Regions from separate parts of the Homo sapiens genome. Here regions 2, 3, 4 and 5 are each linked to region 1. The links are contacts of gene promoters, found by promoter capture Hi-C in blood cells and fetal thymus (Javierre and others, 2016). All regions are on one chromosome and are shown on one strand. The core of a region is centred on a gene start or on the middle of the fragment in contact, and the rest is flanking DNA. Distances in the headings are between cores, read along the strand shown.

Region 1 (2,700 bases), core at 19-2,518:
TCATCAGTGCAGTTTTTGAGGTCTTCCACAGTAAAATCCATACCTACATTCCCAAGGCTGATTTCCAACGACTCACCGGTAGCCATATGGATTACTATTTAAGATAACTGAAGACGACTGTATCATTGAGATTAAGACCACAGACTCAGAAAAAGGAATAGAAAATAAACAACAACAAAAACCAAAGAAACAAAAACAAACAAAAAAGATCACACAGTCTGAAAAGGAATGCTTGGGTTCAATCCCAAATCCACCTCTTACTATCAGTTGAATAACTTCGGGAAAGTATTTAATAACATAAACTCTGCCTAATTTCCTCATAACAAAATAACAAGACCTACTTCATCAATAGCTATGGTCCACAGACGAATGCCTTAAAATCAAAGTGGTAAGATGTTATTGGTAATACTCATTTCCAAGTAGTTTTCCTACCCACTCTCACATTTATTCAACAAATATTTCATCATTTTTCAGTAGTAACTTACTGAGTGACGGAAACTTGATTAACTGAAAGGACAGAAAATGGAACAACAAAGTGCGTTCAAGAGCAGGTACCTGGGGCTATGCTGGGAGAAGCCAAGAAGTCCCTCCTTCCTCCTCTTTGCAAATTCGGAGGCGGTGAATAAAAGGATGCTGTCAGCACGATGGAGTCTCTATCCCGGATAAACGGCGGTAAACATCCCCACGCATTGGAGCCCGATGACTCAATCCTTCTTAAAAAAAAAAAAGATCTGTAAAAGTTCGGGAAGAGCTCGGTCTCCTGAAGGATACGACAGAAAGGCCATGGCATAAAGCCCTGACTTTTCTTCTCTCTTCACTGGAGCTTCCAGTAAAAAGGGCGCTTGTGAGGGAATCACTGTATCAATAGCAGGAGCCAACCCAGTATCAGGTGCCACCACTGTTCTAAGGTTTGACCCGTATTATCTTGTTTAATTCTAATTACAACCCTACACAGTAACGACTATCTTTATTGCTATTTTAAAGATGAGGAAACAGGAGCGCGGATCATAGGTAACTCGCTGTTTATTATACCCACAGAACTAGCGGCGCTGCTTGCCAAGTGCGGGAGGAGAGCAAACTTCCCGCCCTCGGCCTCTCGGCCTCCGCCGCGGCCGCGACCTCTCCATCCCAAGACTGATGGCTGGGGAGCGCCTATTCCCAAGCACAGGCTGAAAAGGTTCAAGAGGGGTCGTGGGGGTGCAGGGCTGACTCACCTCCCGGACCCAAAAGATGGTGGCGGCCTCGCTTTCCGGGGCGGAAGTGGCTCTGCCTGCCCAGAGCTCCTGAACTACCCTTCCCAGAAGGCCCGCGCTCCTGCGGCCCAATTGTTTCCGGACAGAGTTCTGGAATACGTTTCCCAGAACTTCCAGAAGGAAAAACCATCCAGGTGCCGCCCTCTTCGCGCTTGAAAAAAAAAAAAACAAAAAAAAAAACGGAGCGAGCGAGTGAGAGAGGGTTACGGAGAGTGTGACAAAATTCTCGGAGCTCCCGGACTACAACATCCAGAATCCTCTTCACGGCTTATTGCTGTTTAGCCAGGCTGAAGCAGTTCTCTGATGTCAGTGGAATTTAGGTTTTTCTTATTAACAAAAAGTAACAGCAAATATGTGAAGAATTGGAGCCCTAAAATAAAAAAAGACTCCCAGCACTTTGGGAGGCCGAGGCGGGCGGATCACGAGGTCAGGAGTTCCAGACCAGCTTGGCCAATATGATGAAGCCCCGTCTCTACTAAAAATATAAAAATTAGCCGGGCGTGGTGGCGCGCGCCTGTAGTCCCAGCTACTTGGGAGGCTGAGGCATAAGAATCGCTTGAACCCTGGAGGGTGCAGTGAGCCAAGATCGTGCCACTGCACTCCAGCCTGGGCGACAGAGTGAGACTCTGTCTCAAAAAAAAAAAAAAGAAAAAAAAAACTATTATAAGAAACAGATCACGTGATCCTGTACTAATAGAATTATACCCACCACTTCCAAAAAAAAAAAAAAAAAGGGCAGAGGAAACCCTTTAAGTTTTTACATTTAACAGGATCGACTAATAGAAAAACTACTCTTTAGATACTAAAAGAATGAAAGAGCAATCAAAAAATGCAACGAAGGCAGAATATATTATGGATTTCCACTTTTCTTAATAGCACAGTCATATAATTCAGAACAACTTGCTTACTGAGGATAGCTAGACATAGAAAACACAAGCTTTGGCATATGGTAGATCAACTCCACAAAGCAACTAGGGCCTCTGTAATCATTCCTCAAGGAGTTTCTGAATTTGAAAGATGAACAAATTTATTACTTCAGTGTTTAAACCTTGATCTTTATTTGCTTAAATGTATAATGGAATTGATGTTTCCAAGAATTGAGGGTTGAAAGAAGAGAGCAATACCTAAAAATATCCACATATCTACTACAGTACATGTTTGCAGTTCTCATTTACTAAATATATATTCTTTATTCTGTTATATACAACTATCTCTTATAAAGAACCAAGTATGTGCCAGGAACTAGTTCAAACTATTCAGACTATGGGACCCTCACTACATTTTCACAACTTTTTTCTTTTTTTTTTTGTTCTGTTTTGTTGTTGTTGTTGTTGTTGTTGTTGTTAGACAGAGTTTGGCTCTTTTGCCCAGGCTGGAGTGAAGTGGCATGACCTCGGCTCATTGCAACCTCCGCCCTCACACAAGGTTCAAGCAAGTCTCCTGCCTC
Region 2 (2,703 bases), core at 152-2,651, 6.6 Mb after region 1:
TTGCACTAGGAAAGAGCATTCCCTTTACTGAAATGGAGAGTAATACGAGGGGAAACAAAAACAAAGACAGGTGGTAAGTAGGAGCCAAGATGAGGTTCTTTTGATAGTTCATGCTCAGATGATCTGTTTTCTTCCCTGTCTTAACCTTTACTCCAAAGGCCTGAGGCCTCTGAGAGTAACTCCCTAAACAGCATGCAAAGCCTGTATATGCTCCCTCACCAGCTGGCCGTGACTGGCAATGAGGGCTTCCATCTGCCTGATGAACTCTCAACTCACCGGGGCACTGTCTTCCTGTCACATCCCTCGCCACCACGCAGGGCTCTTTCCCTTGCTCCAGTAAGGTAATCACATCTGGCTTTGAGCCAGAATATCCTGCTTACAAGAAAGAAATAAAAGAATATATAGAAATAAAACATTGCACATTCAGAAACATTTTGAGACTTGGTTAAATTTATATGGATCAACATGATTTCGATGAAGACTTCGGAAAAAACTGACAGGATTAAAGAATATTCAACTTAGTGTAACCTCAGGATCCCAGAGAATAAAGAAACTTGATGGGCAGGGGAATTAAAATTCATCTAGGAGAATTTTAATTCATTTTGGAATTAAAACTCATACAGACTGGCTCTATTGAGAGGCAGTAGTTATTGAGGGCATAGCCTCTGAAGCCAGACTATGTGGGTCCAAATTCTACTCTACTACCTATTGACTAATGATTGTAAACAAACTGGTTAAATTATTTGGGCCTCAGTTTTTTCATCTGTAAAATGAAAATAAAAGTAGTACCTTTTATTTTCTTTTTTTCTTTTGTATCTTGTAGCTAGTACTTAGAATGATGCCTGGTATATAGTAAGCACTCTATTAGCTATTATTATTTTTGTTGTTGTTAATTTACTTAGAGCAAAACAAGAAGCTTCCTAAAATATTTCTAGGTTCTTGCTAAGATATTCATTTAAAGTTAGATGCTAAGTTAATAAATTTTATTTTACTTTAACTAATTTCAACTTTTATTTTAGATACAGGGCCATACGTGCAGGTTTGTTACCTGGGGATATTGTGTGATGCTGAGGTTTGAGGTACATTTGATCCCACCACCCAGGTACTGAGCATAATGTCCAATAGGTAAAATTTTCAATCACAAATCAGTAAGAGAAAATATTTGTTTTAGGAAGTAGAATGCATTCACTTTAATTTTAAATCAATGTTATTGGTCTGAACCATGACATGTAAATTGTAGACCCTGGGTAGGGCTGTTATCCTTATAGGCATGTTACCAAATAACAGAGCATCCATAGCAATTCTGAGCTCAAATGCAATGTGAAACCTGATTTCATTGACATTGGCTTTGGAGTAAATGCCCCAAAATTCAAATCCAGTCTCTTAACTATTAAGGAAGAAGTAACTACAGTAATGGATTAAGGAACATTTCATGAGGCTCAGTGAGGTATGGTGAAAATGAAAGCATTTAGTGGAAGTGCCATTCACAAACCATCAAAGTTCAGTCCATTCCTTGAGGAAGAGAGAAGAAATTCAGCTAGTTTCTTAATAATTAGTCCTAAATTTGTGGAAGAGAAAGCTACTATTTCAGATAACAGAGTCTACATTATTTGACATAGGTGACCTTACCCAGTGAGACCAAGTTATTATAATTCTCCAACATCACATCTCTGTACAATTTCCTCTGGGTAGTGTCCAGGCACTCCCATTCCTTCTGAGAGAAGTCTATAGCCACATCCCTGAACGTCACCAATGCCTGAAACCATAAACCAACATATTACTGGTGAAATTACAGAACAAGTATTTTAAAAAGAAGAAAAGGAGATAAAAGGTTTCATTGCAGCAAGGGGTACTATACTAAACTCTAGGCTGGGGCTGAAAGCTTATGATAAAGATAGAAGAAAGGAACCAGGTGTTCTAAAGCAGAGTCACCTCATTTTCTTGAAGAATCCAGCCACTATATGCAAAATTTCCTGTATATTATGGGGTTCTTTAACTACTCAAAACATTTCTGGGAACAAATAAATGTTTCCCAATTCAATTAAACAGTGGATACAAGCAAATAAACTATATTTCTACCTCAAAAATTCTCAATAAATTATTACTTAATAATAAATACTTTAAGAAAAACCACTTAATACATAAAAAAGAATCCTATATCCTCTTTTTCCTTTAAGTTTATCTATCTATCTATCTATCTATCGATCAATCGATTGATCAATCGAGACGGAGATCTCACTCTGTTGCCCACGCTGGAGTACAGTGGTGAACTCAGAAGTTCGAGGCCATAGTACCTCACTGCAAATCTGGGAGAATACAATTAACTAATATTTATGTATCTGGATGATTTTCTTATAAGTACTACACACCTTCTTTTTTCTTGAGATTAAGAATATTGATGTAATGAACCAGAATCATACTGATGTCAAGACTAGCACATTCCGTTTAACCACAAAATGCGTCTTACTATGGGTTTTCACCTCAGAGATTCTCAGGAAAGATCCCCTGGCCTCTCTATAAGCAGGCCCCAACCACATACTGAAACTGAGGCCAATCAATATTAAACTGCATTTATCTACAGACACAGGATCTGTGGAAAACTGCAGTGCTTTCCTACGTGTAGTCAAATGATTCCATTCTTGGTTTCATTACACCTCAGATCTGACAAAGGATGGTAAAGTACCTCCCCCTCTAGGAACTTCA
Region 3 (2,700 bases), core at 194-2,693, 6.7 Mb after region 1:
ATTATACCTTCATTTTTAAAAGAAAAAGCATACTATTCAGAGTATTGAGTAATGATGTGGGCCAGGGAACAGAGGGAGTGAGAAAAGAAGTAACAGAACTTTATCATAGTCTGCAGAAAGATAGGACCCTGCCAAGGTCATCATTAGCATTTATGGCCTATGACAGTGTGATTCCTCTAGGCAGAGGAATTCGAGAAAGGAGCCTCTAGGCAGACTAGCTCCAAGGCTCTGGGCTAACCCAACCTGCAGTGACCATCAGCTCTCACCTGTTCCAGTGAGCTTATGCCTATAGGTCCAAGCCTTGAACTAAATGTGGTGGCCCTAGACACTGTCATCATTTAAAAGGGTACAGGGCCCCAAATTTGGCCTAAAAGGAGGCACAGCGCTTCCTTGCTCTGGAGCAGAAAGGACCTTACCTGGGCCTGAGTGTTGTTTGTTGTGGGGGAAAGAAAAATAGATCAGACTGTTATTGTGTTTATGTAGAGAAAGGAAGACATAAGAAACTTCATTTTGATCTGTACTAAGAGAAATTCTTCTGCCTTGAGATGCTGTTAATCTGTAACCCTAGCCCCAACCCTGTGCTTGCAGAAACAGGTGCTGTATTGACTCAAGGTTTAATGGATTTAGGGCTGTGCAGGATGTGCTTTGTGAAAAATGTGTTTGCAGGCAGTATGCTTGGTAAAAGTCATCACCAATCTCCAGTCTCGAGTACCCAGGGACACAATACACTGAGGAAGGCCACAGGGACCTCTGCCCAAGAAAGCCTGGGTATTGTCCAAGATTTCTTCCCATGTGATAGCCTGAGATATGGCCTCCTGGGAAGGGAAAGACCTGACCATCCCCCAGCCCGACACCCGTAAAGGGTCTGTGCTGAGGAGGATTAGTGAAAGAGGAAGCCCTCTTTGCAGTTGAGATAAGAGGAAGGCATCTGTCTCCTGCTCGTCCCTGGGAATGGAATGTCTCATAAAACCTGATCATACATTCTATTTACCGAGATAGGAGAAAACCGCCTTGTGGTTGCTGAGACATGCTGGTGGCAATACTCTTTACTGCACTGAGATGTTCGTGTAAAGTTAAACATAAATCTGGCCTACGTGCACATCAAGGCACAGCACCTTTCCTTAAACTTATTTATGACACAGAGTCCTTTGCTCACGTTTTCCTGCTGACCCTCTCCCCACCATTACCCTATAGTCCTGCCACATGCCCCTCTCCGAGATGGTCAACATAGTGATCAATAAATACTGAGGGAATTCAGAGACTGGGGCCAGCGCGGGTCCTCTGTATGCTGAGCGCTGGTCCCCTGGGCCCACTTTTCTTCCTCTATACTTTGTGTCTTATTTCTTTTCTCAGTCTCTCGTCTCCACCTTGCAAGAAATACCCACAGGTGTGGAGGGGCAGGCCCCCTTCAGTTTGTTGCTGTTTTTTTTTTATTTTTATTTTTTGGTGTTTTGTCTGGTTTAGTTTGGCTTTTTGGTTTTTTTTTTTTTTTTTTTTTTAGAGACAGGATCTTACTCTGTTGCCCAGGCTAGAGTGCAGTGGCACAATCATGGCTCACTGCAGCCTTGAACTCCTGGCCTCAAGTGATCCCCCTGCCTCAGCCTCCCAAGTAGCTGGGACTACTGGTACACACCACCATGCCCAGCTAATTTATTTTTATTTTTATTTTTTTGTAGAGATGGGGTCTTGCCATCTTTCCCAGGCTGTGGCCTGAGTGTCAATAGGGCTGTATCTTGGCATGAGTGTAGGGTGCTCTGGATCTGGGTGGGATGTGACCATCTCCTGGATCAAGGTTGACCGTGGAAGTAGCCTGGGATGAGGAGAGGCCACAGCCCATCCTGTCCTCAGAGTATGTGGAGGCAGGAAGAGCACCGGGGCAATGGGTGAAACAAGTATCAAAGTATAATTTTCAAAAACTTATAATTTTTAACTCTTTTACAGATATTCAAAGATTCATTTCACTTATTAGCAAGGGCATTGGAAATTGATTTCCAAGTGAACAGGTATATACCTATCTTCAGTGAAAAACAATAGAATCTTCGAATAAGATTGCAAAGTTAGATATAAAACTATTTAATATCCCTACAGGGCAATAAAACCATACCTTTAAGGTTATTTCTTCCACACAGAATCAATTTGTAGCTATACCAGATGAATATATGAAAATGCATCAATTGTCTGCTGGGCGCGGTGGCTCACGCCTGTAATCCCAGCACTTTGGGAGGCCGAGGCGGGCAGATCACGAGGTCAGGAGATCGAGACCATCCTGGCTAACATGATGAAACCCCGTCTCTACTAAAAATACAAAAAATTAGCCAGGCATGGTGGTGGGTGCCTGTAGTCCCAGCTACTTGGGAGGCTGAGGCAGGAGAATGGCGTGAACCCAGGAGGTGGAGCTTGCAGTGAGTCCAGATCACGCCACTGCACTCCAGCCTGGGCAACAGGGTGAGACATCTCAAAAAAAAAAAAAAAAAAGAAAAATGAAAAATGCATCAGTTGTCTGCAAGTTAACATCTATTTTTACACCACCTACATCCTAATAAATAACAGTCAATCAAATAAAGGTTCATTACACCAGAGCAATGAATTCTCAACCTGGGGCAGTTTTAAGCCCCAGGGGACATTTGGCAATGCCTGAAGACAATTTTGGTTCTCACAATGATGGGGGTAGGATACTACTGGCATCTAGTGGGAAGAGGC
Region 4 (2,700 bases), core at 51-2,550, 6.6 Mb after region 1:
TCCTACGTAATATTCAGAATTTGTTCCCCATAATTTCTGCCTCATTCATTGTGAATTTCTGATCTCCATTCCCTAAGGAAAGGCTTACGTTTGAGTAGAAGTAGAAATGGACAGCTCCACCGTGTACCTTTTTATCTCTTATCCTTTAGACTGTCACATCTTTCTCTGTCACTTCCTGTCAGTGTCTCCCTTCTTTGATGCCAATGGACTAGATTTGAATCTGGGAATCCCCTAGCATGACCATGCACCATTTCCTTTCTTTTAAGCTGTATGTGCAGTCCCTAAGCCAAATATACTTTCCTTACTGGAGCAAGGAAAGGAGCCCTGGATGCTGATGAGAACCATGACATAAAGACAGAGCTCAGGTGAATAAAGGCTGGTCACAGTGTCAGCTATTGCTAATAATACAGCTGATCCGTAGGTGGCAGCACTTTGAGGTGTGTGCCTGAAGCTCTCTTCAAAGGCCTGTGGAAAGAAGGCTTGAGACATAGGGAGAGCAGGAAGGTTATGTGTGTGAGTTCCCCGTGGAACCTCCCTCCCAACTCCCATTTGCCACTCTTCTGTTTTACATTCCCTTTTTGTTTTAATAAGGGAGCTACCTTTGGTCTGATCTCTTTTGGGGACAATGCTTTTATCTATTTTTTGAATTACGTTTTTCCTGGTTGCTCTTTTATAGTTAAACTTGGATAAGTATCTCTAGCCAGCACATACGTACTGAGAGCTTGCTACGTTCATAGGTTAGGAGGACCAGGAATGATAGCTCAGGGGAGGTAACATTTGAATTAAGACCTGAATAAAGTTGGCTGTAAATCAGGGAAAGGTGTGTTCAGGCAGAGGGAAGAGAAGATCCTGAGAGAAACTGAGCTTCACTTGTTTGAGAATCAGCAAGAAGGCCAGTGTGGCTACTGAAAGTGGAAATTTGAGGTGAGGTTAGAGAAATAGGCAGAGGTCAAATCATGTAGGACCTTGTTGGTTGTTGCAAGCAGTGAGATTTTATTCTAAGTGTGATAGGGAGCCCCTGGCTGACTTTTTGCAGACAAGTAAAGGATCTTTGTTTAGAGGTCACTGAGTGCTATGTGAACAGTGAGGATAAAAATGAAAGCAGGAAGACTAATGAGAGGACTAGTTCAGAAGTTCACACTAGAGATAACAGTGGCTTGGAATTGGGTTTAATATGTGGAGGTGATGAGAACAGGCTATATTTTGAAGGTAGAATTAATACCTTCATAATGGAGTTATTTTGAAGATTGGCAATAGAGGCATCAGGGTTTGGAAGGCTGGAGAAGGAAGTCAAGAGTTACGTATTTGATATGCTCATTAGATATCTGTGTGGTGAAGTTAGATAAGCATTTGGAAGCCTGTGGGTGGAGGGGATAGTCAGGACTGAAGAGATAAATATGGGATTACTCTCTGTACCGAGGAACTGAATGAGATTATGGAGCGAATTGGTTTAGACGGAAGGCAAGGTACAGCTCAAGGACTGAACCATGGGGTGTTCCAACATTCAGTCAGGAAAACAATCTAGCAAAGGAAATTGAGGACTAACCTGAGTAACCTGTGACCTAGGAAGAGGGAATGCAGTGTATTGGAAGCCAACTGACAAAAGGAGGAAGCAGTTAGCTGAGAGAGATAATGCTAGGAGTTCAAGTAAGAGGAACGCTGAAAATTGGCTATTGGATTTGGCAGGATGAAGGGTGTTGGTGACCCTGACAAGGTGGGTTTGGCAATGAGAGGAACAAAAACCTCATTGTGGAGTATTTAAAAGAGAGTGAGAAAGAAGTAAGTCAACAATAAAAACTAGAGTGGGACAGTGAATTAACTCACCAGGCACTGTTGAAGGCCCATTTGAGGAACCCTCAAAGTTACAAATAGAGTTTACAATATTTTAGAAGGTTTTAAGAACACTGTAATAATTAGGGGAAAGAAGTGTGATTAGAGTTTATATATGCAGTATTATTTCAACTACATAAAAATCCATGGAACAAATTTAGGAAGGAAATATGGCAAAATGTTAATTATGGTGGTAGGAGAGAAAGAAAAGCAAAAGGTATAGACAGGAAGCATGCATACCTCTTGAGAAGTTTTGCCATTCTCCTGGTTCACCCTGCAGCTCCTGTCCACTGCAGGGTGAACCACAGAATCAGGAGAGGTTTTTGTTTTTTGTTTTTTTTTCACAGGAGAATCTTTAAAATGGTGGTAGGCTGGGCACAATGGCTCAAGCCTGTAATCCCAGTACTTTGGGAGGCTGAGGTGGGTGAATTGCTTGAGCCCAGGAATTCAGGACCAGCCTGGGCAACATAGCAAAACCCCATCTCTACTTAAAATAAAAATTAGCAGGGCATTATGTCACATGCCTGTGGTCCTAGCTACTTGGGAGACTGAGTTGGGAGGATCATTTGAGCCCCGAGGTCGAGGTTGCAGTGAACCATGATCACGCCACTGCATTTCAGCCTGGGCGACAGAGCAAGACCATGTCTCCAAAAAAAAAAAAAAAAGAAAGAAAGAAAGAAATGGAGATAAAATGCTGGAGGGGTGGTATAAAGGTAAATGATCTGGTAACTTCAGTGGTGGTGGTCAAAAAGGACGGTTGCTTGAAAGTGTGCTTTAAGACGTGTTGCTGTTATTGGTAATAACATCCTTTGACATTATGTATTATTATGTTAGTACAAGTTGTGCTAATCATTATTAAAAAGAGACTAA
Region 5 (2,700 bases), core at 81-2,580, 6.4 Mb after region 1:
CTAAATGTTCTGCAAAAGCTTTTTTTTTTAAATATGGAGATTGGCCAGGTGCAGTGGCTCACGCCTGTAATCCCAGCACTTTGGGAGGCTGAGGCAGGCGGATTGCTTGAGCCCAGGAGTTTGAAACCAGCCTGGGCAACATGGTGAAACCCTGTCTCTACAAAAAATACAAAAATTAGCTGGGCAGGTCCTGCACACCTGTAGTACCAACTACTTGAAAGGCTGAGATGGGAAAATCACCTGGGCCTGGGAGGTCAAGGATACAATGAGCCATGTTTGAGTCACTGCACTCCAGCCTGGGCAGGAGTGAGACCCCGTCCCCAAAAAAATAAATAAATAGCACAAAACAATTAAATATTGGAGATTATTAAATTTGGCAAGGACATCTCATTTTTCTAACTTACAGGAAAAATAGTTTAGAAACTCATGTTTATTGGGAATTTATGCATCACATGACTAGCAGACTATGTAGTTGTGTCTTTAATACTTTATTGAATTTTATTTTATCCATTCCTCAGCAGGTCTGAATTATTGTGGTAACCTTCAACATGCAGAAACATTTGTCTGTGGCAATAGGATCCTTTAGGAATAGGATCCTTTAGGAATAGGATCCTGTGGCAATAGGATCCTTTAGGAATATGTAGACACGTTGCTTTAGTCTGCTACCAGTCATTAGCCACATATACTATATCACTCCTTTTCTCTAATGTGCTCTTGTAATCTCCTATCTTTCCTTCTTTAAAATGTTTTTAAAATTTTGTAATGCATGGGTTTGCAGTTTCAGGAATTAGTGACATTCAGGGATGTGGCCATAGACTTCTCTCGGCAGGAGTGGGAATACCTGGACCCTAATCAGAGGGACTTATACAGGGATGTGATGTTGGAGAACTATAGAAACCTGGTATCACTGGGTAAGTTTATTTGCCTCAAGTAATTTAAAATGTGATCTGTGATATGTTACCTTTCAACACAATGAATTTCAAGGCCATATTTCAAGACATAGTTGAATTTCTCCTTCCTGTTCTTAGAGGAATATTTCAGCTCTGCCTGTTTGACAATGGCTGTGCCACTAAGCACCATCATTTTCTTCATCCTTTAGAGATAGTCACATATTCTCCTGCCCCTTATGATTGCCTCCTTTCCTTAATATCCAAGGGGCTGGGTTAAAATTATATATTATTATTATTAAATTATATATTATTAGTCCATGAATAACCATTGCCCAGGAATCCTGGTTTCCCATTGTGCATATTTCCAGAATTCCTATAGATATGCTGTGTCATCATCTGATCCACCTGCAGGGACAAAAGACGCAGATTCATGATTTACTCTGAGTATAAGAAGAACCCCTGTGACATATAGTGCTGGATTAGATGAACAATATTTATTGGAAACTGAAGAGTCCACATTTCATTTCCTGTAGCCAATTTGTATGATTTATTGTTGAAAGTTATAATTCATGAGCTTTGCATTGAGTTTGAATGAAGATTTTATATATCAGTCGGGATGCTTTTTTTCTCTCATACAGAAATAATAAAATAATTATAATTGGTACAGTTGTGCTCATTATGTCCCCAGCCACTCTTTGGAAGGGAGGGGGAATATATATATATATATATATATATATATATATATATATATAAAATAACTTAATCCTGAAAGAACTGTGTGATAGTGTTATTGTTATTATCTTATTTATTTATTTATTTTTTTCGAGACTGGATCTTGCTCTGTTGCTTAGGCTGGAGTGCAATCATAGCTCACTGTAGCCTCAACCTCCTGGGCTCAAGTGATCCTCCTGCCTCAGCCTCCTTAGTAGTTGGGACTGTAGATGCACCACCATGCCTAATTTTTTTTTTTTTTTTTTTTTTTTGTAGAGATGAGGTCTCGCTCTGTTGCCCGGGTTGGTCTCAAACTCCTGGTCTCAAGTGATCCTCCCACCTCGGCCTTCCAAAATGCTGGGATTATAGGCGTGAGCCACCATGCCTAGCCAATAGTAGTATTATTATGTCCAGTTTATTTGCCAAATTGGAATAATGAGTTGAAGTCACATGGCCAAAGTCACAAGGTTGGTAGATTTAAGAGGAATAATTTGTGCCCCAGCCTTCTGGCTCCAGAGAACTTCACAGCTACTTTGGGGTGGTAATATTTGGAAAGAGACATTTTATAAGGTCACAGGTTAAACTTTCTCCTAAGAGACCACGCGTGTATGAGTTTACATTAAAATAAGGTTTTACTGTGCCTGTTTCATTTCTTCAATCATCTCACCCCTCTTTTATTTGAAGTCCTTAGTTCATTGTAAATTTAATCAAAGCTCAAAGGTTTCTGTTACTTTTGTTTTTATTTTTATACCATGTGGCATTTCTTTTCTTATAAGGAGGACATTCCATTTCTAAACCAGTTGTGGTTGATTTACTGGAGCGAGGAAAAGAGCCCTGGATGATTTTGAGGGAAGAAACACAGTTCACAGGTAAGGAAGGCAGGGGACACCATCAGGGCCGGCCACAGCCCATGTGGTAAGAGAAAGGAGACATTTTTGTGTTGTTTGTGAAACCTTCCTCCAAGGCACCCAGACTTGTGGAGCAAAGGCCTACAACCTGGTTGGGAATAAAGATCGTAGCATAAGCTATGGAAGAAGCTTCAACTTTACCCCATTTACCAATCACCTTATTTCTTTTATATTTCAAACCTGTTTTCAGT

What was found. Contacts are between HindIII fragments. The CHiCAGO score rates a contact against its expected background, and 5 or more counts as called.
Region 2: a contact is called between a fragment that was not itself captured here and the fragment with the promoter of ZNF227 in region 1, in 4 of 17 cell types (naive CD4 T cells, total CD4 T cells, non-activated CD4 T cells and 1 more). The highest score is 6.7, in naive CD4 T cells.
Region 3: a fragment that was not itself captured here is called in contact with the fragment with the promoter of ZNF227 in region 1 in 1 of 17 cell types (non-activated CD4 T cells); the score reaches 6.7 in non-activated CD4 T cells.
Region 4: a fragment that was not itself captured here is called in contact with the fragment with the promoter of ZNF227 in region 1 in 1 of 17 cell types (naive CD8 T cells); the score reaches 6.9 in naive CD8 T cells.
Region 5: a contact is called between a fragment that was not itself captured here and the fragment with the promoter of ZNF227 in region 1, in 1 of 17 cell types (non-activated CD4 T cells). The highest score is 6.2, in non-activated CD4 T cells.

Annotation. Positions count from the first base shown.
Region 1 is chr19:44,211,100-44,213,799 of GRCh38, reverse strand. It overlaps ZNF227 (zinc finger protein 227), which reads right to left and starts at 1,268. Exons shown (of 6, transcript NM_182490.3): 1 at 1,215-1,268; 2 at 556-710. The HindIII fragment of the contact is 5,683 bases long and covers 1-2,192 here.
Region 2 is chr19:37,598,679-37,601,381 of GRCh38, reverse strand. It overlaps ZNF540 (zinc finger protein 540), which reads right to left. Exons shown (of 5, transcript NM_001172225.3): 3 at 1,630-1,756; 4 at 277-372. Among named protein-coding and RNA genes, the nearest start is that of ZNF540, 5.2 kb to the right of the region's middle. The HindIII fragment of the contact is 966 bases long and covers 919-1,884 here.
Region 3 is chr19:37,500,456-37,503,155 of GRCh38, reverse strand. All of the region lies in intron 2 of ZNF793-AS1 (ZNF793 antisense RNA 1), which reads left to right. Among named protein-coding and RNA genes, the nearest start is that of ZNF793, 5.1 kb to the left of the region's middle. The HindIII fragment of the contact is 7,082 bases long and covers 1-2,700 here.
Region 4 is chr19:37,581,262-37,583,961 of GRCh38, reverse strand. The region is part of intron 3 of ZNF571 (zinc finger protein 571); the gene reads left to right. All of the region lies in intron 5 of ZNF571-AS1 (ZNF571 antisense RNA 1), which reads right to left. It also overlaps a transcript of ZNF540 not described here. Among named protein-coding and RNA genes, the nearest start is that of ZNF571, 12 kb to the left of the region's middle. The HindIII fragment of the contact is 5,270 bases long and covers 1-2,700 here.
Region 5 is chr19:37,769,775-37,772,474 of GRCh38, reverse strand. ZNF573 (zinc finger protein 573) reads left to right here. Exons shown (of 5, transcript NM_001172690.2): 3 at 779-911; 4 at 2,378-2,470. Among named protein-coding and RNA genes, the nearest start is that of ZNF573, 8.5 kb to the left of the region's middle. The HindIII fragment of the contact is 2,620 bases long and covers 21-2,640 here.